7 separate regions of the Homo sapiens genome follow, and all the other regions are linked to region 5. The links are contacts of gene promoters, found by promoter capture Hi-C in blood cells and fetal thymus (Javierre and others, 2016). All regions are on one chromosome and are shown on one strand. Each heading gives the region's core, a stretch centred on a gene start or on the middle of the fragment in contact. The rest is flanking DNA. Distances are from core to core; before and after follow the strand shown. Region 1 has its middle 8.8 kb from the start of PTER. Region 2 overlaps MINDY3 (MINDY lysine 48 deubiquitinase 3). Region 3 overlaps NEBL (nebulette). Region 4 holds the start of MINDY3 (MINDY lysine 48 deubiquitinase 3). Region 5 holds the start of NSUN6 (NOP2/Sun RNA methyltransferase 6). Region 6 overlaps SKIDA1 (SKI/DACH domain containing 1). Region 7 overlaps MLLT10 (MLLT10 histone lysine methyltransferase DOT1L cofactor).

Region 1 (2,828 bases), core at 27-2,526, 2.2 Mb before region 5:
TTCCTAAATCATTGCACTTAGACTCTCCATTCAGGGCACTGATAACTTGGTTTTCCTGCCCGCAGTCATGGTGTTGGATCCTTCCTCCTGACCTTTGGATCCTGGGCTTCTGGCAGATGCTCCGTGCATGGTGATTGCTGAGGCTACCACACCCTGAGTCCCACCTACCCTTCTGTCTAAAAGAACTATTTTTTTCTTTCTAAGATGGAGTCTCCTCTGTCACCCAGGCTTGAGTGCAGTGGCATGATCTTGGCTCACCACAACCTCCACCTCCCGGGTTCAAGCGATTCTCCTGCTTCAGCCTCCCAAGTAGCTGGGACTGCAGGTGCGGCACCATCACGCCTGGCTAATTTTTGTATTTTTAGTAGAGACAAGGTTTCACTATGTTGGCCAGGCTGGTGTCGAACTCCTGACCACAGGTGATCTGCCCATCTTGGCCTCCCAAAGTGCTGGGATTACAGGTGTGAGCCACCATCCCCAGCTTTTTTTTTTTGTTTTTAATGGAGCCACGCTCTGTTGCCCAGGCTAGAGTTCAGTGGTGCGATCTCAGCTCACTGCAACATCTGTCTCCTGGGTTCAAGGAATTCTTCTGCCTCAGCCTCCCGAGTACCTGGCATTACAGCTGCGTGCCACCACACCTGGCCAATTTTTGTATTTTTAGTAGAGATGGGATTTTGCCATGTTGGCCAGGCTGGTCTCGAACTCCTGACCTCAGTTAAAAGCAGATTATTTAGTCAATTCTGTTTGCTATTTCTGACTTCTCTGTACTTAAATCCTAATTACCCTCTCTTGTCTGGCAAACTCCACAGTGTTTTTCTAAAGACCCCAAATAAGACACTTTCATATTGTGTGTCATTTAATTCCCACACCAGTCCTACGAAGGTACAGGGTTTCTGCCATCCTCAACACTTAAACTCTGGCTTCCAGGCAGCTTCTTCAATTCTCATCGTCTCCCAGTGGGGTGGGATATGCACCTAATCTTCTTAGTCACAGGGCCATGCCTAGCTGCAAGAGAGGCTGGGCAATGTCATCTTTAACTGGGAGGCCATGAACCTCACTAAATTAGTTGTGTGACAGAAAAGGGAAAAGGATCTTTGAGACAACCTGGAGTTGGCCAGGGCAATGTAATAATATCCCCACTTTATATGAAGACACCATAGCTCGGAGATATTAAGAGTTCTCATAGCAAGAAAAGAGAGGAGCCAGAAATTGAAGTCAGGTCTATCTGACTGCAGAGCTACTTTCCAATGGACTGGTCTACACCGCCTGGTCCCCCGTGTTCACAGAGAATCCACATGATGCAGCACACCCTGGCAGGAGATTCATTCCAAAGACAAGACTCTGATAGTTCCCCTTTATTCTAGCTAGGAGATTGAATCAAACTCTTTGGTTATTTTAGCTGCAACATAATTTTTATATATTGTATCTATGATTTTTATTTTTATATATAATTTTATATATCCTAGATGTTTTTATATATCCTAGATATTTTTATATATCCTAGATATTTTTATATATCCTGGTAATATTTACTAAGTGACACAATTTTGCAAACTACACATGCAGAGGAGTTCTTTAGTAACTAAAGCTGCCAAGGCCTGTGTTCCTTACATAGTGCAATCAAAAACAGGACTTTTTTTTATTTTTTAAGAGACAGGGTCTCTGCTCTGTTGCTCAGGCTGGGGTGCAGTGGCACAATCACGGGTCACTGCAGCCTTGACCTTTCAGGTTCAAGAGATTCTCCCACCTAAGCCTCCCGAGTAGCTGGGATCACAGGTGCGTGCCACCATGCCTGCCTAATGTCTAGTTTTTCCATTTTGTAGAGACAGGCCCTTCCTATGTTGCCCAGGCTGCTCTTGAACTCCTGGACTCAAGTGATCCTCCTGCCTTAGCCTCCCAAAGCACTGGAATTACAGACATGAGCAACTGCACCCGGCCTAAAAACAGTATTAAACAAAGTTTCTGATTAGAAGTTTTAACTAACTCCATGGCAGAAAAATTTCTTTAGAAGACCTTCAAATGAAAACAAATTATTCATATTACTTAAAGATAAAAAGTCAAGGAATTTGATTTATAAATTCAAGTTATCCTTGCAATGTTTGGTTCCAGACCACATTGTTTTTCAACAATGGGAACACCACCATTTGGCGTTCTTCACAGACACACATGCTCGAGCTTCCAGTTAATAAATAGCTTCCCGGCCATCATTTTGAGAGTTTCATTCCTTCTGTTTAATTAATCCAGCTCTCAACATTGTATTTATTAGAGACCAATAATCACATTATTGTGTGCTAATAGATGCCTCTAGTATTTAAATAATTCTCCCAAGGATTTGGAAGTCATCCTGGGACCTATTTAATATTAGTTATTAATGGCTTGTTAAAGAAAGGTGGCTTTCAATTTGCATACAGGTTCTTCAAATTCTCTTACTAGGACAAATACCATATTAATTAGGGTAGGCTATCTGCTGTAACAAATAATCCCCAAATCTCAGTGACTTACCACAATAAAACTACATTTTTCTTTCTTTCTCTCTCTCTCTCTCTTTCTTTTTTTTTTTTTTTTTTGAGACAGAGTCTTTCTCTGTTGCCCAGACTGGAGTGCAGTGGTGAGGTCTTGGCTCACTGCAGCCTCTGCCTCCTGGGTTCAAGCGATTCTCTTGCCTCAGCCTCCTGAGAAGCTGGGATTACAGGTGTGCACCGCCATGCCTGGCCTACATCTTTTATTTATATCATTTATATTTACATCAGATGTTAGGGTTGGTGGGAGGGTTCTGCTCCACACAGCTCTTCAAATATAGCCCCCTGCCCTCCTGCAGCTGCATTCTA
Region 2 (2,700 bases), core at 75-2,574, 2.8 Mb before region 5:
GCCCAAATAGGTATAAATGGATACTTCATATCTTCGCAAACTTTTCTCTCCCTTTCCTTCTTAAATGTAAGCAACACTAAATGTTTTCATGTAAAAAAGAATACATACATTGGGAAACAGTTTCACAATTTAATTTCTAAAATCAGTTACCACCACCTAGTGTTACAATTAGATACTACATCATCTATTTCCCTGGACTTTTAAACAAATGTCTAATAATAATATCATGTTACTAAATACAGCAAACTAGTTGTTCATAATTCTTGGGTAATGAACTATTTAGATTTGATCAGTAAACACATGCTTAGACATCTAGTCTGGATGGTAATTATTTTAAAAATGTATTATGCCTGTTTTCTTAAACAGAATATATACTTAACATTTTTACCTTCTTATGATAGTTTCAAGAGCATCACACTAGGAAAATTTACTTTTATGCCAAGTTGTAATACAGTGAGGATTTAATATTCTCACATGTTACGATTTATAGAATTTATTTGTAGGAGACTTTCTCAATAAGCCTTGAAAGTGTCTATTTTCAAGTATTCCTAATCTGAAAATCTGAAATCCGAAATGTTCCAAGATCTGAAGCATTCTGAGAGCCAACATGACTCTCAAAGGAAATGTTCATTACAGCATTTTGGATTTCAGATTTTCAGATTAGGGATGCTAAACTGGTGAGGAAAAATGCAAATATTTCCAAATCTGAAAAAAATCGAAATCTTAAATGCTTCTGGTCCCAAGCATGTACTCTACATTTGCAAAAAAATTCAAATTACTTTGTGATTATATTCTTGTTTTCTTTGCCAGAATTAATTTACTATCTTTTATTATCAGAGACGGTGTCTTGCCTTCTTGCCCAGGTTGGTTTCAAACTCCTGGCCTTAAGTGATCCTCCCGCTTTGGCCTCCCAAACTGCTGAGATTAAAAGGCACAAGCCAATACACCCAGCCTAACTGATTATCTTATATAAAAGAGAATGAAACAAACCATCAAAACTCATTCAGTTTCTGACTGCATTTTTAGGAGTTCCACATATTAAGTGGAATATAACCAGACAAGCACCAGAGAAACATGACTATTTTTTGGCCTAACTATAATATCCGTTTCTGTTTATTTTATAATTGACAAATTAAAGTTGTATATATTTACCGTGTACAACATGTTTTGAAATATGTATACACTGTAGAATGGCTAAACTGAGCTAATTAACATATGCATTATTCTGTGTATGAGTCCATCATCTTTCAATTAGCTATGCATTTGACTGGCTGTAATACTGATTTCTTTTTATAAAAACAAAACAAAAACCCACAAAAAACCAAGAAACTTCTGGGTTTCTGAATTACAAGAGTTGACTCTTCTATCCCTATCCCATAAAGAAAATTATAAAATAAAAATAATCATCAAATAAGCATACAAAAATAAATAAACAATATGGACAAAAATAATGTACAAATACTGAAGAATTCCTTTAAGATAAAAAAGAGACCATGACAAAATTAATCTACAGAAAATCAAAATCAAAGAAAACTTTAGCTCAACATACATGGAATAGTACGAAATGAAGATGGATGGCAGGTAGAGAGGAGAAAGACCACAAAAGGATCTGAGAACCTTAGAAGGAGTTTGGATTTTATTTTAAGTGCGTAGGGAAGCCAGCCATCGAATGGTTTTAAGGGAGAGAGAAACATGATCTCACTGAGTTTGAAAAATATCACACTAGCCCCTGTGAAAGAGTGGGCAAGAATGCATTTAATTTGATTAGTTCTACTGCAGCTTATTTCTGTTCTATTGGAGAAGCAAAAGATGGTTTCAAAAACTGGGGTAGAATCAAGTATATGGATTCAGGACCATATAATCTATATAAAACACTGAATATTTTTCACTAAAGAATGTACAAAACAATCTAGTTGGGAAGATAATATGTAAAGATATAATTTCCTCAAAATAACCTACAAATATAATGTAACCAATCCAAATCTTCAAAGATTTCTTAAAACTGGAACTTGAAGAGCTGGGAGGAAAGTTCAACTGGAATAGATAATGTAGAAAAGACTATGACAATTTTGTAAAAGTATAACATCAGGAAACATGCTAATGAATATCAAAGTATATTATAAAACTATGTAATTGTGAAGTTTTGCATAAGAAGTCACAAAAAGATCAGTGGAATAGAATAAAAACATGTAAATATGGAAAAATGTGTTCAACAAAAAACGTATTTCCTATCTGTGGAGAACTGACTGGAATTAGGACATTAGATAATTCTTTGAGAAAAAGTCAAAAGGCAGATCCCAAACTCATACCATTCATAAATACAAAATCCAGATAGACTAAAGAGCCAAACATTAAAAAACAAAAAGCCCACAAAAGCATTTTTGGAAAATACTAGAGAATATTATCTTGGGGTGGAGCCGGGCATGATGGTGCACGTCTGTAGTCTCAGCTACTTGAGAGACTGAGGCAAGAGGACCACTGGAGCCCATTTAGAGGCTGCAGTGAGCTATGACTGCACTACTGCACTATGGCCTGGGTGACAGAGCGAGACCCCGTCTCTAAAAAATGAAAATAAAAAATCTGGGGGTGGGAGACACATAAAATTGATATAACAGGAGTAAAAAAAAAAAAAAAAAAAAAAGCCCAAATAGAAGCCATCTAAAAAAAAGACCAAATGATTTAACCTCATAAATATGAAAG
Region 3 (2,700 bases), core at 31-2,530, 2.2 Mb after region 5:
CCAGCAGCTGGGAAGAGTGGTGGGGAGAGGAGATAAAGTGGAGATGGTTAAGGAGTGCAAAAATACCGTTAGAGAGAATGAGTTTAAGATCTAGTATTCAATGCCACAATAGGGTGACCATAGTTAACAATAATTTATTGTACATTTTAAAATAACTAAGAGTGGAATTGAAATGTTCCTAACAGAAAGAAACGACAAATGCTTGAACTGATGGATACCTCAATTATCCTAATTTGATCAATACACACTGTATGCCTGTATCAAAACATTACATTTACCCCATAAATATATACAACCATTATGTATCAATAACAATTATAAATTAGAAAATTTTAAAAATAATTATTTCATGATTTCTATCATTGGAGATTGGACACTTTGTTATTTTGCCTTATTTGGAAAAGACCTTTAGTAGTAAATGGTAGCTCTTAAAGACTCAAGGCTACAGAGACTTAAGAAGCTAAAGATAGCTGCTTATTAGACAATGGGGTACCAGTAAAAATGGCAATAGAGTGGAGGGATCCAAAAACAGTATTTGAAAGGGAGCGGGAAAGAGCTGGCCATAAGGAAATTTGCATTTTGATCTTAGGGGATACTCCAGGGATTTCAGAGTGAAAGAGGAAGAAAGCTCAGTGCTAGGAATGGAACAGATGACCAAGTGGCCTGCCACAAGAGAGCTACCCTTTCTAGTGGGACAAAGCAATAGTCCCCAGAGGGAGCCTGGCCTCAGGTGCTTCCACTCAATTAGGGAGCTGCAATATATGTTCCCCCAAACCTAACCAGAATAAAATCAGGGAGGAAAGCACCCCCCAGGAAGGACATGAAAATGTTCATATAGTACTTTTTTTTTTTTTTTTTTTTTTGGACAGGGTCTTGCTCTGTCACCCAGGCTGGAGTGCAGTGGAGGGATCATGGCTCACTGCAGCCTTGACCTCCTGGGCTCAAGCAATCTTCCCATCTTAGCCTCCCAAGTAGCTGGGGCTATAGGTGCATGTCACCATGCCTAGCTAATTTCTTTATTTTTTGTGGAGCTAGGGTCCCACTACGCTGCCCACGCTGGTCTCAAACTCCTGGCCTCAAGCCATCCTCCTGCCTTGGCCTCCCAAAATGCTGGAATTACAGACAGGAGCTACTGCACCTAGCCCACAGAGTACATCGTGATGGAAGGAAACAAGTTATAAATTTTGGCTCCTCTAATGTTTTTTTAAAAAAGCCTTTTTTTGGCTAGGCGCGGTGGCTCACACCTGTAATCCCAGCACTCTGGGAGGCAGAGACAGGCGGATCATGAGGTCAAGAGATCTAGACCATCCCTGGCCAACATGGTCAAACTCTATCTCTACTACAAATACGAAATTAGCTGGGAGTGGTGGGGTGCACCTAGTAGTAGTAGTCCCAGCTACTCAGGAGGCTGAGGCAGGAGAATCGCTTGAACCTGGGAGCGGAGGTTGCAGTGAGCTGAGATCGTGCCACTGCACTCCATCCTGGAGACAGAGCGAGAGTCCGTCTTAAAAAAAAAAAAAAAGTGTTTTTTTTTTAACCAGTTAAAATCTGGAAAGAAAGATAATAATACAGACTTTATAATTTGATTAGAAGTTATCTTGTAATATGTATTTATAAAATAATCATGAATGTAACAAGCTACAACATAGTCCATTACTGAGTTAAAATCCACAACAAATACATATAAATATATGTAAAATAATGAATATATACTGAAAAATTCAGTAAATATTGTTCCCAACACAATTATCGATTTTAGTTACAAAGAATTTCAGAAACTCCTATTTAAGAAAACAAAACAAAACAAAAAAAAAACGAAGGAAAACTTAATTGAATTAAGATCTGCAAAAGAACTTCGAATGCGTGTCTTTCCTTATATAACAGTCTCTGCTACCTCCTAGTGGGAGATACACGGAGTAACACAAAATATATATTTCTTAATTTATGTAAAGTTGTGAAAGAAACTCAACACTACCAGAGGTCCATTTTCCAGGGGAAAATGTTTTCCAAAACTTTAATTAGAATGATTTTACACAGTAATTAAGGCACTCATATCACTCTTTAGAGTTTGGGTTAAAATAAAAGTAACTCTGATGTTGCTAAAGACATCTAGGGGTCTTTAAAACAATAGCTACTGTGACAAATGGATAATTTTGGCAGAATATCTCTTATTGAGCAATCTTATTCAATCTTTTAATTTATAAATCAACACAACTCCAATTTTTTACATTAAAATGTTAAAGTAGGCTATTCTTTGTTTCTTCACAAATGCTAGATAAAGGAGGCCATTCTAATATACAATAAAGTTGAGCAAATGTATACAGCTTTATACAATGTACACAACTTTGTAAGGAGACACTTCAAAAGGAACACATTTTTAAGTCTTTCTCTCCCAGGAAGTAGTCAATCACAATTTGTCTATGGGGAAAAAGAAATCTGTCCTCTAGGCAAAAGCACCACCTAAATGAAGATCTAAACTTTATATATGATACATGAAATAAGTAACGTATGACTTTGCTGTGTTTTCTCTGTTGAAGAGATGATAGAAACAATTTATATTAGACTGCGATTTTTTTCTCTGTTATTATAAAATAAAGGTCAACGTTCTTGAAAAGCAATATTGCATAGGAGTGGCACGCTTTCTTCCAGCCACCAAATGTTGAAATTACCACCATGATATTTTTATTGGCTTATTTACAC
Region 4 (2,891 bases), core at 386-2,885, 2.8 Mb before region 5:
AGTGTTAAAATAAAATCTCCCTCTAAGAAGCCCAAGATTAGGTAACTGACATAATTGAATGTGAAAAAAAAGAGCCCAAGTCATTACATGTAGGGTTTGGGAACTCAAAGGAAGATAATGAAAACAGAGGTATATTAGGAATCGAGAGACCTGGAATCCACTCCCAGTTCTATCGATTTGTGCAACTTTGGCCCAGTCATTTACCTTTACAACTAATTTTTTTCGCCTGCAAAGCAACAGTGAGGGACTAAATATCCCAACTTAACAATACATCGTAATTGTAATTTTACCAGCTCTTAAAACAAACATGTGGGAGGGAGGGAGAGATTACGTAAATCCTGAATTTTTGTTACAAAATACACGTTTTGAAATAGGGGTTTATATTTACTATGCCAAAATTCCGCCCAATCTATTTCGGGAACAGGTGTTCCCTAAATAGATGTTTTAATAATAATAGTGTTTTACATACATAAATTATTGATCCTTCTGACTCAAGGTTATGTTTTAACCTCATCATCATCTTTCCTAAGTCACCTTTAGGAATGTGTCAGTTGTTTGCCTATCCAAACTTAAGAATTAGGGATAGTTACTAGTATAAAGCGCCCAGCCTGTTACAGTGCAAGAATTCAATAAATGCTTATTTTATTTCATTATTATTTGTACTAAGACTCTTCATGTAAGTAAAAGTCCTGTCTGGGTTACAAGCATACCGGCCGAGGAAGTACTATGATCCATATTCCTTTTTTAACCGTGACAGATAATAAACCATATAAAAAACGGGGATACTTTGGGCCAAGAGTACACTTTTTAGCAAATAACAGTGTTTATACACAGACTACCACGCCTAACCACATAATGACAATACAAACAAAAAACTGCTTTTTGGAATTAGCCACTTGGACTTTCCCTTGGACGTCCCTCCTTCTCACCAAAAATAGACCAACCACCACCAATAGACAGCTCTGTTAGGGGGTAAAGATGCGGAAGGCCACAGCACCCCTTGAGAAAGTGACACCGGGGCACGGGGCGCATCTTCCGTGTCACGCCCTGCAACCCAGCAAGGGGCCACCCTCTCCTCCTCCCCAGCCGAAGGGCAGCCCGGAGGATGGAAAGAGCGCTGCGGGTATTTAGTGGCAGCTGTAACCATTCTCCTACTCAAACTCTCCCCACCAAGGCAAGGCAGGGCGTGTCTAGAAAGTCCAGCTTCAGCGCTGAGCACGGCGACTGGGGCAGAGAGCGGGGCACGCGAGGGGCTGGAGCGAGAGGCGTCACAGGCGGACTCTCGCAGGGCAAAAGAAGCAGCGGCTGCAAGTGTGAGAGCCCCGCCAGGGTACCTTGCGTCCAGCGGCAGAAAATGGTGTCCGAGAGACCGGGGCTGCTCTTGGTGCCCCACACCAGCTCCATCAGCTCTTTAGTCAGTTCGGACATGATGAGGAACCGGCGGGCGGATCTTCGCTTTGCGGACTCCTGCCCCGGAACATGGGGAAGGGGCAACTCCGGAAACAGCAGCTGCGGGACGGCGGCGGCAAACGAATTGGAAGGTGAGGCAGGAAAGAAGAAGGGGCTGAGAGCCACTTGCAGAGACCAAGCCTGTCAAGCCAGGTTGGGGCAGCAGCGAGTTTTCCGTACCGGAAGTGCTGGTGCCACTTCCGACTCCTCTTTAACTCCCGCCCCTTAAGGCTGAGGGCCCGGAAGTCCCCTCCCCGGAAGTGAAATTGGAGGCGGAAACAGGCACGGAAAGCGGTGGAAGTAGCTTCTGACCTTTCTGAACTGTCTGGGACCCTTTGGTGGGGTGGTAGTTTTTGTATTGGGAAGGGGCGTCGGCGTGTTTCTAAACTCCAGGAATACCTTCTTCCTCTACGCACTGCTCTGGGCTAAGCTGGAGGCTCTGAGGCCCAGGCACTAGGAATTAGAACATATGCCCATTGCTTGTATTTTTCAATATTAATTTTGCAAAACTAGAACTATAAGGCAATAGTTGAGTCACAGTGCGGTAACATCCGTGCCTTTGTAGGGCGCTTCTCATAAGCTGGAGGCTGTCCGCCTCTGTACTTCAATAAATCAAAGTCAGACCAACTATTACCTAAAAACATGGCAAAGAATGTGGCATAATGTGCATTAGAAATGCTTCCACCAGCTGCAACGCAGAATTACAAGGTATTTGTAGGGAAACAAATTCAGAGCAACCTGTTTGTAAATGTTACAGCATTTTCATCTCCAGTTTTTGACACTGCAGAGTGTGTGGGCAACACCTGGACTAAAGTTTAGGTTTTACTCATTAACTAGCAGTTAAATTGAGTTCATGTGAAAACTTATGTTTGTGCTGCTTAAAAAAAGAGGGCTTGTATTGCCCGAGCTTTGAATTTAAAACGAAAGGGCAAAATCTGATTTAAAAAAAAATACATGCTTTTATTTTGGTTCTGTAAGGTTTCTGTACTCCTTGGAAACCATATTACTTTGGGATGCAGTAATGCAATAGTTAAGAGGCCAAGCTGTGGGTCATACTGGCCCATATTCCTACCTTTTGCACTTACTAGCAAGTTACCTACTATCTACCTAGGCTTTTTTCTTTCTAAAAGGGAGATTGCATACATTTCATATATTGTAAGGAATAAATGGAAAAAGTAACACATACAAAGGATTTGGTGTACTTCCTAGCACATGGAAGGCATTTATGCAACAGTGGGTATTTTTTTTACCTCAAGAAGCCATTTTGTGGGAATTTGATGCAACAGTAGTTCTGACTTTTTTACCCATAAATTCTAGCCAGTTGTATTTTAGTATAATACGTTATGTTCTCTAATTTCAAAAACATGCAGTTTCATTGTAGAATACCCTTGCATTTGGCTAATTAAAATTAACCCTTAATTTAAAATCTTTTAGATTGCAAA
Region 5 (2,825 bases), core at 188-2,687:
AATTAACATTTTTTGAAGACTTACATGCCAAAACAATGCAAGTTGTTTTCATTTACGTTTAATATCCTAAAACAACCTGGTAAAATATTTTTAACTTGACTAAAAAATTAAAGATTTGAAAAAAAACAAAGTTGCTTAGAGGCAGCATGGTAAAATGGAATAGACAACAGGCTTTGCAATCAAAGATAATCAACATTTACTGAGGACTTTAGCAAATAAAATTAACATTTTTTGAGGACTTACATGCCAAAACAATGCTAGTTGTATTCACTTACGTTTAATATCCTAAAACAACCTGGCAAGATATTTTTAACCATTCTCAATTTTTCACAGAAGAGAAAAATCTAGGTTAAGCCACGTAATTTACAAAGCACTAGAATGCAAATCATGTGCCTGAGATTCAAAAGCTGTACCTTTGTTCATTACACCTGAACTCTTTCCCTCCAGATTTCAATAGTTACTTGATAGCTGTGTCAACTTGGATCAGTTACACAATTCCTTGAGCAGTTTTCTGCTCAAGTCTATTAAAAGAGGAAAAACCTCTAAGAAAAAAAAGATTGTGAAGATTAAAGATGCAAATCTCCTAGCACAACTGCTGGCATTTAAGAGGCACTCAACAAATTACAGAAACCTTTTCACCTGAGTGCCAGAGCCAGCGCTCTTTTAAAATTCGATTCGAGTTCTTGAAGACAGGGACCTTTTCTTGTTCATCCTTGTAACCCTTTGTGCCATGCCTGACAGGCACATGCCTTTTTTCCCTTCTTTTCCACTCCTAAATGTTAAAACATATACCTTATTCACTTCGTATCTCAGTAAGCTTTAATACCTGTAGAAACATATTGGTATTTTTACACTTGATAGACAAGTAGTAAGGAACGACGGCTGTCAAGATTTCCCTTTATACTTATTTCTATTTCTCTCGAGTGTGCGAATATTTGAGTTTTTGCAAAATATCAACTAACATCTTTACTTGACCTACCTCCTTATTCATAAAGCCTTCCTTAAGATAGTTTTCAACCTCAGGTCTCAAAGATATCTTAGGGAAAATAGACATTTTTCCTGTTGTTTAGTTCTCCACCAAGAGAAATGCTGGAAAACGGTGTTTTGTTTTTTTTTTTCTTTCCGAATTAATAGTGACGAGTGTCTTGACACCAGATGCTGAGGAAAATCTTGCCGATCACGCTGAGTTAATTTCGGAAATGCAGAGGTACACGCTTTCTCAAGCCTAGCCGATTAGAAGGGGCTGCCGGGCTTCCACCACACCTCATCGAGGCAATGTTTTCTGGTAGAGATGCTCATGGAAATCACTGAGCCAATGCCACTCACGTTGCAAAGAACCAAAAAAAGAAAAAAATGCTTAGTAACTGAATCCGTGGTGAAACGGACGCAGATCAGTAAGCCAGGCTGACAGCAGCTCGGTCCCTTTATCTTTTCTATCAATTTCCAAACACGCGCCCCCTATTTCTCGGCGGAAAGTCGCTTCCGGCTTACGTCACGTCCGGCGCCTGCGGCCCACCCCTCCCTTTCCGGTCCCCCAATCCACAGCCGCAAGTTTCCCCAACACTGCGTTACGCTACGCCACGCCCCCGGAGGTTCCTAACCCTGCGTGAGGCTCTTTCACCTGCCTCAGGTTAAGTAGGCAGACCCCGCGGGCGGGATGGTCAAAGATATTTAGTTCCCGGTACCGGAGGGCTAGGTGCCAGGGGCAATGGGGAAACAGCCAAATGGCGTGGGTTGAGTGGAAGATGTTGCTGGACTGAAAAAAGGCACAGCCCAGTTGCTGTCCTGCCAGATGTCCTCCAGTTAGAGGATGAGGCCAGAATTTGGGCGCATCAGCCACCGTTTGATTTCATGACATGATTTTACCTCTCTCAGGCATACAGATCTGACTTCAGTTGTGAAGTTCATAGGGTTCATATTTTTGAAAGTTGGGCTAATGGTCTGTTAATATCCAATGCTCAGGTAAAACTTAAAACCCACAGACAGTGTTTACAGTTAGTTATAAGGCTAACTGCTACTTGTATCATAGTTGACATATTCTTTAGAGTTTGGAAGACCCTCGCCATTATTTTTTTTTCTTTTTTTTCATCATAAGCAGACAAGGATATAGATTCAAAGAACGAGGATATCTAACCAAACTCACTGAGTCATTTTATAACTGTACAGGAAAGTCAAAATAATTCTATCACCTTGACATATGTTTTTTGCAGCACACCATGGTAATTTACACATAAGTATAGGAAAGGGTTTTTTATTGTTTTTTTCTCTTTAATTTTCACACCGAATTATACACACAGACACACACACATAGAACAGGTACTTTCCATGACACACCAACTCTTTACCAGAAAGAGTAGAAAATAATGAATGACCATTATACCACACAACAACCTGCAAGTTGTTTATCATTTTCTCTGCTCTTTTTTTTTTTTTTTTTTTGAGTCTCTGTCGCCCAGACTGGAGTGGAATGGTGGGATCTCGACTCACTGCAACCTCCACCTCCTGGTTCAAGAGATTCTCCTGCCTTGGCCTCCCGAGTAGCTAAAATTACAGGCATGTGCCACCAGGCCCAGCTAATCTTTGTAATTTTAATAGAGACGGGGTTTCACCATGCTGGCCAGGCTGGTCTCAAACTCCTGACTTCAACTGATCTGACTCTCTAGCCTCCCAAAGTGCTGGGATTACAGGCGTGAGCCACCACGCCCAGCCCATTTTCTCTGTTTTAAAGAGTAAATCAAGGTTCCTAGGGTTGAAACAACTCTCCATGTTCTCACAAATAAAAAGCCAGGATAAAGACTAGTAATTTGGCTTCTAGAGCCAATACC
Region 6 (2,899 bases), core at 329-2,828, 2.9 Mb after region 5:
ATGTCCAAATTAACATTTATATATATATATCCTTCTCTGTGGGTCCAGGAAATTATTGTGAATTTAGGCACATGTATGATATGCATTGAGTTTAATTAAATGTGATTATTTACTCAGTGAGGAATGCCTAATCTACACACTATTGTAAAAAGTGCTTTAGCTTTGAAAACAAAGCTGCTTGCAAAAGGAAAATCCTCTTTAGCAAATAGAGATTGAAATATATTCCTAATGTCCACTTACTTCTGCATTTATTGTAAAAAATCAGCACTTTCAGTTTTTAAAGTGAAGGGCCATGAAAATATGAACATATTTGTCTTTACTTATCCCATATGAATGTGCTAGATTTACCTTTAGATGCTCTATTTTGATTTATTTTCACTGTATTTTATGTTTCAATACCATTGCAATTCAGTCTGACCTCTTTCCTCTGGAGCGAAGTAATGCACACGGCATTTACAGTCTTTTAAATGGTTAGCTGGGAAATGCAATAGCAATTTGCAGGAGTAGTTTACTAATGGGGAAAGTTCTTTTGAAAACCTGAAGGAAAACCTAAGAGTACTTTTGCATTTCTACACTACAACTGTCATATAATTAAAGTATTGAAGAGCATTAAAATAATCCTTTTCCTTCCAAGCTTTCACCCATACATACATAATTTAAATGAGGATCACAGCCACCCCCCCCCCCCCCCCCCCCCCCCCGCCACCAGCTCTTCACCATATACGTTTGTTTTAGTGATTGCTGGGCACATTTTGTTCAAAGTGAATTCAGACAGAAAAGAGTAAGGAACATCACAAAGGCCTCAACAATGTAAGTATGCTGGTTAAAAGAATAAAAGCCCCTTGTGCTATTAACTAAAAGTAACTATAATATTCACAAGATAAAAGTTTAAAATAATAATAAAGTCTCATATGGCTGAATTAGTTGAGGATATAAGACAATAAAATCTCAACAGTTCTTTAGCTAAGTTTATCTAATATCACATCTTCTCTGCTTTTTGGGATGGGAAAATGGGAATGAAGGAGTAGAAAATGGCTAAATTGAGAAACAAATGATAACTTAGTATATTTCCTTTAATTTTTTTTCTTTCTGGTTCATTTGAACAAATCAGGGTAAGTCTCCAAAAGGGCCCATCCCTCTGTTCTTAGGCATTTAAAAACCCTGTCTTTAACAGAAGTTTGGGACACAGGGTATATGCCATGTTGTCTACTGACCCATAATCAAAATGCAGTGACCTTCTACCCTTTTTTTGCCCCCTGACCCATCTTGAATTCAATGCAGCCTTTATAAATTTGCAAATCCTTGGAGGTAAAGGGGTTTTTGTGAGGCTTTGTTCTGAAAAAGCCCTAAGAGTGTGCTTTCTAAATTAGACAAAGGTAAAGCAACAAATCCTAGTGGATGAGATTTTACACAGGTGAGCAATAGGCACCTCCAGATAACATATATTGCAAGCTAAAAACCAGTTATAAACATAGGAGACAAGGAGGTTATAGATTGCATCAAATTAGAGTGAGGTACAAATCACTTTCATGATGTAAGAAACGGCTAGGCCACAATCTTCCTGCTCTTCTCATCTCAAGGGCTGTGGGGGACCCTAGTGACCAAGGAAGGAATGGGGTGGGGGGAAGGGGGCAGGGAGGAAAAGAAAGGAGTGAGACTTGATCTGAATCTGTGGGCACATTCCCTTATCTTTCCTGCTATCAGCCAGTTTAAAGGACACCATAATTATGATGGTGATAAAACAATGCCTGCTTATGTGTGCTGAATAAATAAAGAATGTTTACAGCTCAAGAATCTTTTAATTCCAATTAAATGCTATCAAAGAAAAGCCACTTTTCCTACTGCAACCGCCTTTCCCCCCAATTATCTTGTTTTGTTGTAATATTTTCCTATGAGACACATGGGCCTTTCACAATTGATCCTGAATGCAAAAGAAAAAAAATCAGAGAAAGTAGAGTTTGACCTTCAGATATTAAATAATACACAAATATCCAGAACCACAATTTGTTAGGGTTGCCCAAGTTTTTGTTTATTTTACACAAGGGCCAAACATATAGAGACTGAAGTGGTGACACCAAGTGTTGAGGCCTACCTATGGGCTGCTCAGCCATACTGAAATCCTGAGCCACCACGAGGGGAGAGAGGAGAGACAAGACATGAGGAGCCTGATGGTCTCTGGAAAGGGAATCCTCTTCTGGTTCTGTTCCCCTGGCTTCAGCCCAAATCCTTCTGGGAGCACTGGAGCCAATCACTGTCTTTCACTGCTGCAGCTACTGGGAACCTACAAAAAAGCGGGAGATAAAAAAAAAAAAAAAAAAATCACAAGTTCGAATTTATGGATACACAAGTATCATTTCATATTCATGACATCAGCAAATCACATCATAATCAGATTTGAGCAAGGTTTGGACACTAAGACCCAAAAGACTGGACACTCAACACTGACAGTATCACATATTAACCAGAAAATTCGCTTTTTTGTTATGGAATCATAGGGTGAAAATTAAGTCTTTTAACTTTGAAAAGCTTACTTTTCACTTCTGAGGCCAATTTTTACACTAATAAATTTCAAGTAAACGTCTCTTTTAAAGTTGTTCCACAACATTTTAATTCAAACTTCTATTTCCTTTCTCAGTTGGGGTAGTGTTTTGTTTGTGTTTTAAAAAAACACATGGCACAACAAACGTTATGGAAAACGCACTCATTCCGTTAAATGCCGATACAAACCTGCCTTTTACTACATCTGTCTAAGCAGCGCATTGCTAAGTATAAACTTAAAAAAATTTTTTTTTCTCAAAGACATATCTATTATTTCTTGGCAAATACTATTTGGTGATGTGGTGCAAAAACACAATGGTAAAAAATTTCGGGGTATTTGTAAGTTTTCTGGAGAGTTGCA
Region 7 (2,728 bases), core at 3-2,502, 2.9 Mb after region 5:
ACTTTTCTTTTCCTAGAACTGTTAGGTATATGTTTGGGATTTTCATTCTGTTTTTCATGTCTTTTAATTTGTCTTTCATATTTTCTATCTTATCTTTTTTTTTTTTTTTGAGACGGAGCCTCTGTTGCCCAGGCTGGAGTGCAGTGTTGCGATCTCGGCTCACTGCAAGCTCCGCCTCCCGGGTTCACGCCATTCTCCTGCCTCAGCCTCCTAAGTAGCTGGGAATACAGGTGCCCGCCGCTACGCCCGGCTAATTTTGTGTATTTTTAGCAGAGACGGGGTTTTTCCATGTGAGCCGAGATGGTCTTGATCTCCTGACTTCATGATCCACTCACCTTTGCCTCCCAAAATGCTGGGATCACAGGTGTGAGCCACTGTGCCCGGCCTTTCTGTCTTATCTTTGCATTACTGATAATATCTTTAACTCTGTCTTCAGATTTATGCTTATTTTTAATTCAGTGAATTAATTTTTTTCTGAGTAAATTTCTAGAATTTTTGTGTGATTTTATTTTTCAATTTGTCTCTTTTTTCAGGGTATCTTGCTTTATTGTTTGAAGAATTATATTCGTTTTTTTATTTGAACATTTAAAACATACTTATTGTAAAGATTCTCAGATTTTGGAATTCTTTGTTAACTCTGGTGATAGATGTCTTTATATATTGTGTAATTTTTGACTGCAGGCTAATCTTCAGGTGGAGTTGTCTTTCCTGGGATTCCTGTTCCTCTACCATGAGTTGTGAAGATGTCACTGTGGGGTTTTTGCCTTTGCTCTCTGTCTTTTAAGAATTGTGTTTGGCCGACCAGATTATAATGGTTTCTACAAGTCAGGAGCTTATTCCTTTTTTTTTTTTTTTTTTTAGACTTGAGTCTTGCTCTGTCACCCTGGCTGGAGTGCAGTGGCGCAGTCTCGGCTCACTGCAACCTGCACCTCCCGGATTCAAGCAGTTCTCCTGCCTCAGCCTCCCCAGTAGCTGGGATTATAGGCATGTGCCACCACTCCTGGCGAATTTTTTGTATTTTTAGTAGAGATGGGGTTTCACTGTGTTTCGATCTCCTGACCTCGTCATCCGCCCGCCTTGGCCTCCCAAAGTGCTAGGATTACAGGCGTGAGCCACTGCACCCGTCCAGTTATTCTTTTACTTAAAAGCAAAAGGCATTTTGAAGCTTCGATGACAGCTCTCTTAAGTCACTAGGGAGTATGCTTTTTCTATCTTCCTTCTGTATCAGCCTTAGCACATAGTTTTCATGTTCAGGGTTATCCCATAGTCAAAGCATGGCAGCTGGAACTGCAGTCATTGTGACTACAAAAGAAGTCCCAGGCAGAAAGAAGGGGAGAGGGTAAGCTTCAAGTGTGGTCCTCTAACTGAGTTGTACTCTTTTTTTTTTTTTTTTTTTTGAGAGAGTGTCTTGCTCTGTTGCCCAGGCTGGAATGCAGTGGCCGCGATCCTCTACTTCCCGGGTTCTCCTGCCTTAGCTTCCCGAGTAGCTGGGATTACAGGTGTGTGCCACTATGCCTGGCTAATTTTTGTATTTTTTGTAGAAATGGGGTTTCGCCATGTCGGCCAGGCTGGTCTCAAACTCCTGACCTCAGGTGATCTGCCCGCCTTGGCCTCCCAAAGTGCTGGGATTACAGGCGTGAGCCATCGCGCCTAGCTCTGAGTTGTACTCTTAAACTAATTGTCCTTGAGGCTCCACTCAACAACTTAGGCTTAATTTTACTGGCTCTTAATTGTTACTGAGCCTGCAAAATGTGGTCATAAAGTTGGGCCCATTGATAAACTGGTTAAAGTGAGAGTTCTGTTAGTAGGGAAGAAGGAGAAAATAGACTTGGATTGGTAGCTGCAGAGTCTGTTACAGTTTGCCTAATGGGGTTCATTGCTCCAGGCCAGTCTCTAAGTTTGTTTCTTGGCTTGGATTTCTACATCCTTTAGATAATAGATTTTGGGCCCCATACCTTCCCTCAGTATCCCCTTGGATTTCTAGAGTGAGTCATCTACTCACATCTGGAGCAAGCATCTAATTTCTGTGCAGCTTCCCTAGTCTTAGTAGTCCAGCACATGGTTTTCTAGAGTCTCTTCCTGTTATGACATGGATCCTTATCAGCTCTTGTCCTTATATAGGGAACCCAGTTAGAGCTTTTCTCCATATCTTTAGTCTATGTTGCTGTCATAGTCAGTCCTACCCTCTAAGGTATTGTTTCTGATAGCTTCGTTAACTGCCCCAGCTTCAATTTAATACTGATTCCTTTAGCTTTTTGTTTGTTTTTGAGACAGGGTCTTGCCCTGTTACCCAGGCTAGAGTGCAGTGATGCAATCTCAGCTCACTTCAACCTCCGCCTCCTGGGTTGGAGCGATTCACCTTCCTTAGCCTTATGAGTAGCTGGGACTACGGATGGGTGCCACCAAGCCCAGCTAATTTTTGTATTTTTAGTAGAGACGGGGGTTTCACATGTTGCCCAGGCTGGTCTCAAACTTCTGACTTCAAGTGATTTGCCTGACTCAGCCTACCAAAGTGCTGGGATTACAGACGTGAGCTATGGCGTCCGGCCTTATTTAGCTTTAAAGTTCTTTTTTATTTCTGCCACCTGGAGAGTTACCTTTATTCACATAATTAAAAATTGTTTTCAGATTTCTTTTATCTTTAATTTTTTTTTTTTTTTTGAAATGGAGTCTTGCTCTGTCACCCAGTGCAGTGGTACGATCTTAGCTCACTGCAACCTCTGCCTCC

The links. The method cuts DNA at HindIII sites, captures the fragments that hold promoters and counts their contacts. A CHiCAGO score of 5 or more calls a contact.
Region 1: a contact is called between a fragment that was not itself captured here and the fragment with the promoter of NSUN6 in region 5, in 2 of 17 cell types (non-activated CD4 T cells and total CD4 T cells). The highest score is 7.7, in non-activated CD4 T cells.
Region 2: a contact is called between a fragment that was not itself captured here and the fragment with the promoter of NSUN6 in region 5, in 3 of 17 cell types (total CD4 T cells, activated CD4 T cells and naive CD4 T cells). The highest score is 6.6, in total CD4 T cells.
Region 3: a fragment that was not itself captured here is called in contact with the fragment with the promoter of NSUN6 in region 5 in 1 of 17 cell types (M2 macrophages); the score reaches 5.8 in M2 macrophages.
Region 4: the fragment with the promoter of MINDY3 here is called in contact with the fragment with the promoter of NSUN6 in region 5 in 9 of 17 cell types (naive CD8 T cells, total B cells, non-activated CD4 T cells and 6 more); the score reaches 20.4 in naive CD8 T cells.
Region 6: a contact is called between a fragment that was not itself captured here and the fragment with the promoter of NSUN6 in region 5, in 1 of 17 cell types (activated CD4 T cells). The highest score is 6.1, in activated CD4 T cells.
Region 7: a fragment that was not itself captured here is called in contact with the fragment with the promoter of NSUN6 in region 5 in 2 of 17 cell types (non-activated CD4 T cells and total CD8 T cells); the score reaches 5.4 in non-activated CD4 T cells.

Annotation. Positions count from the first base shown.
Region 1 is chr10:16,426,784-16,429,611 of GRCh38, forward strand. No RefSeq gene overlaps it. Among named protein-coding and RNA genes, the nearest start is that of PTER, 8.8 kb to the right of the region's middle. The HindIII fragment of the contact is 9,091 bases long and covers 1-2,828 here.
Region 2 is chr10:15,824,558-15,827,257 of GRCh38, forward strand. All of the region lies in intron 8 of MINDY3 (MINDY lysine 48 deubiquitinase 3), which reads right to left. All of the region lies in intron 2 of LOC124902383 (a long non-coding RNA gene), which reads left to right. Among named protein-coding and RNA genes, the nearest start is that of MINDY3, 35 kb to the right of the region's middle. The HindIII fragment of the contact is 8,423 bases long and covers 1-2,700 here.
Region 3 is chr10:20,853,721-20,856,420 of GRCh38, forward strand. The region is part of intron 9 of NEBL (nebulette); the gene reads right to left. The region is part of intron 2 of LOC102725112 (a long non-coding RNA gene); the gene reads left to right. Among named protein-coding and RNA genes, the nearest start is that of NEBL, 42 kb to the right of the region's middle. The HindIII fragment of the contact is 9,153 bases long and covers 1-2,700 here.
Region 4 is chr10:15,858,872-15,861,762 of GRCh38, forward strand. MINDY3 (MINDY lysine 48 deubiquitinase 3) reads right to left here and starts at 1,636. Exons shown (of 15, transcript NM_024948.4): 1 at 1,335-1,636. The coding sequence starts at 1,428. RefSeq lists an enhancer at 1,378-1,427. The HindIII fragment of the contact is 10,196 bases long and covers 1-2,891 here.
Region 5 is chr10:18,650,150-18,652,974 of GRCh38, forward strand. NSUN6 (NOP2/Sun RNA methyltransferase 6) reads right to left here and starts at 1,438. Exons shown (of 11, transcript NM_182543.5): 1 at 980-1,438. The coding sequence starts at 1,054. RefSeq lists an enhancer at 1,578-1,677. The HindIII fragment of the contact is 3,002 bases long and covers 816-2,825 here.
Region 6 is chr10:21,521,591-21,524,489 of GRCh38, forward strand. It overlaps SKIDA1 (SKI/DACH domain containing 1), which reads right to left. Exons shown (of 4, transcript NM_207371.4): 2 at 2,093-2,281. Among named protein-coding and RNA genes, the nearest start is that of SKIDA1, 2.6 kb to the right of the region's middle. The HindIII fragment of the contact is 1,892 bases long and covers 633-2,524 here.
Region 7 is chr10:21,548,283-21,551,010 of GRCh38, forward strand. The region is part of intron 3 of MLLT10 (MLLT10 histone lysine methyltransferase DOT1L cofactor); the gene reads left to right. Among named protein-coding and RNA genes, the nearest start is that of MLLT10, 15 kb to the left of the region's middle. The HindIII fragment of the contact is 179 bases long and covers 1,164-1,342 here.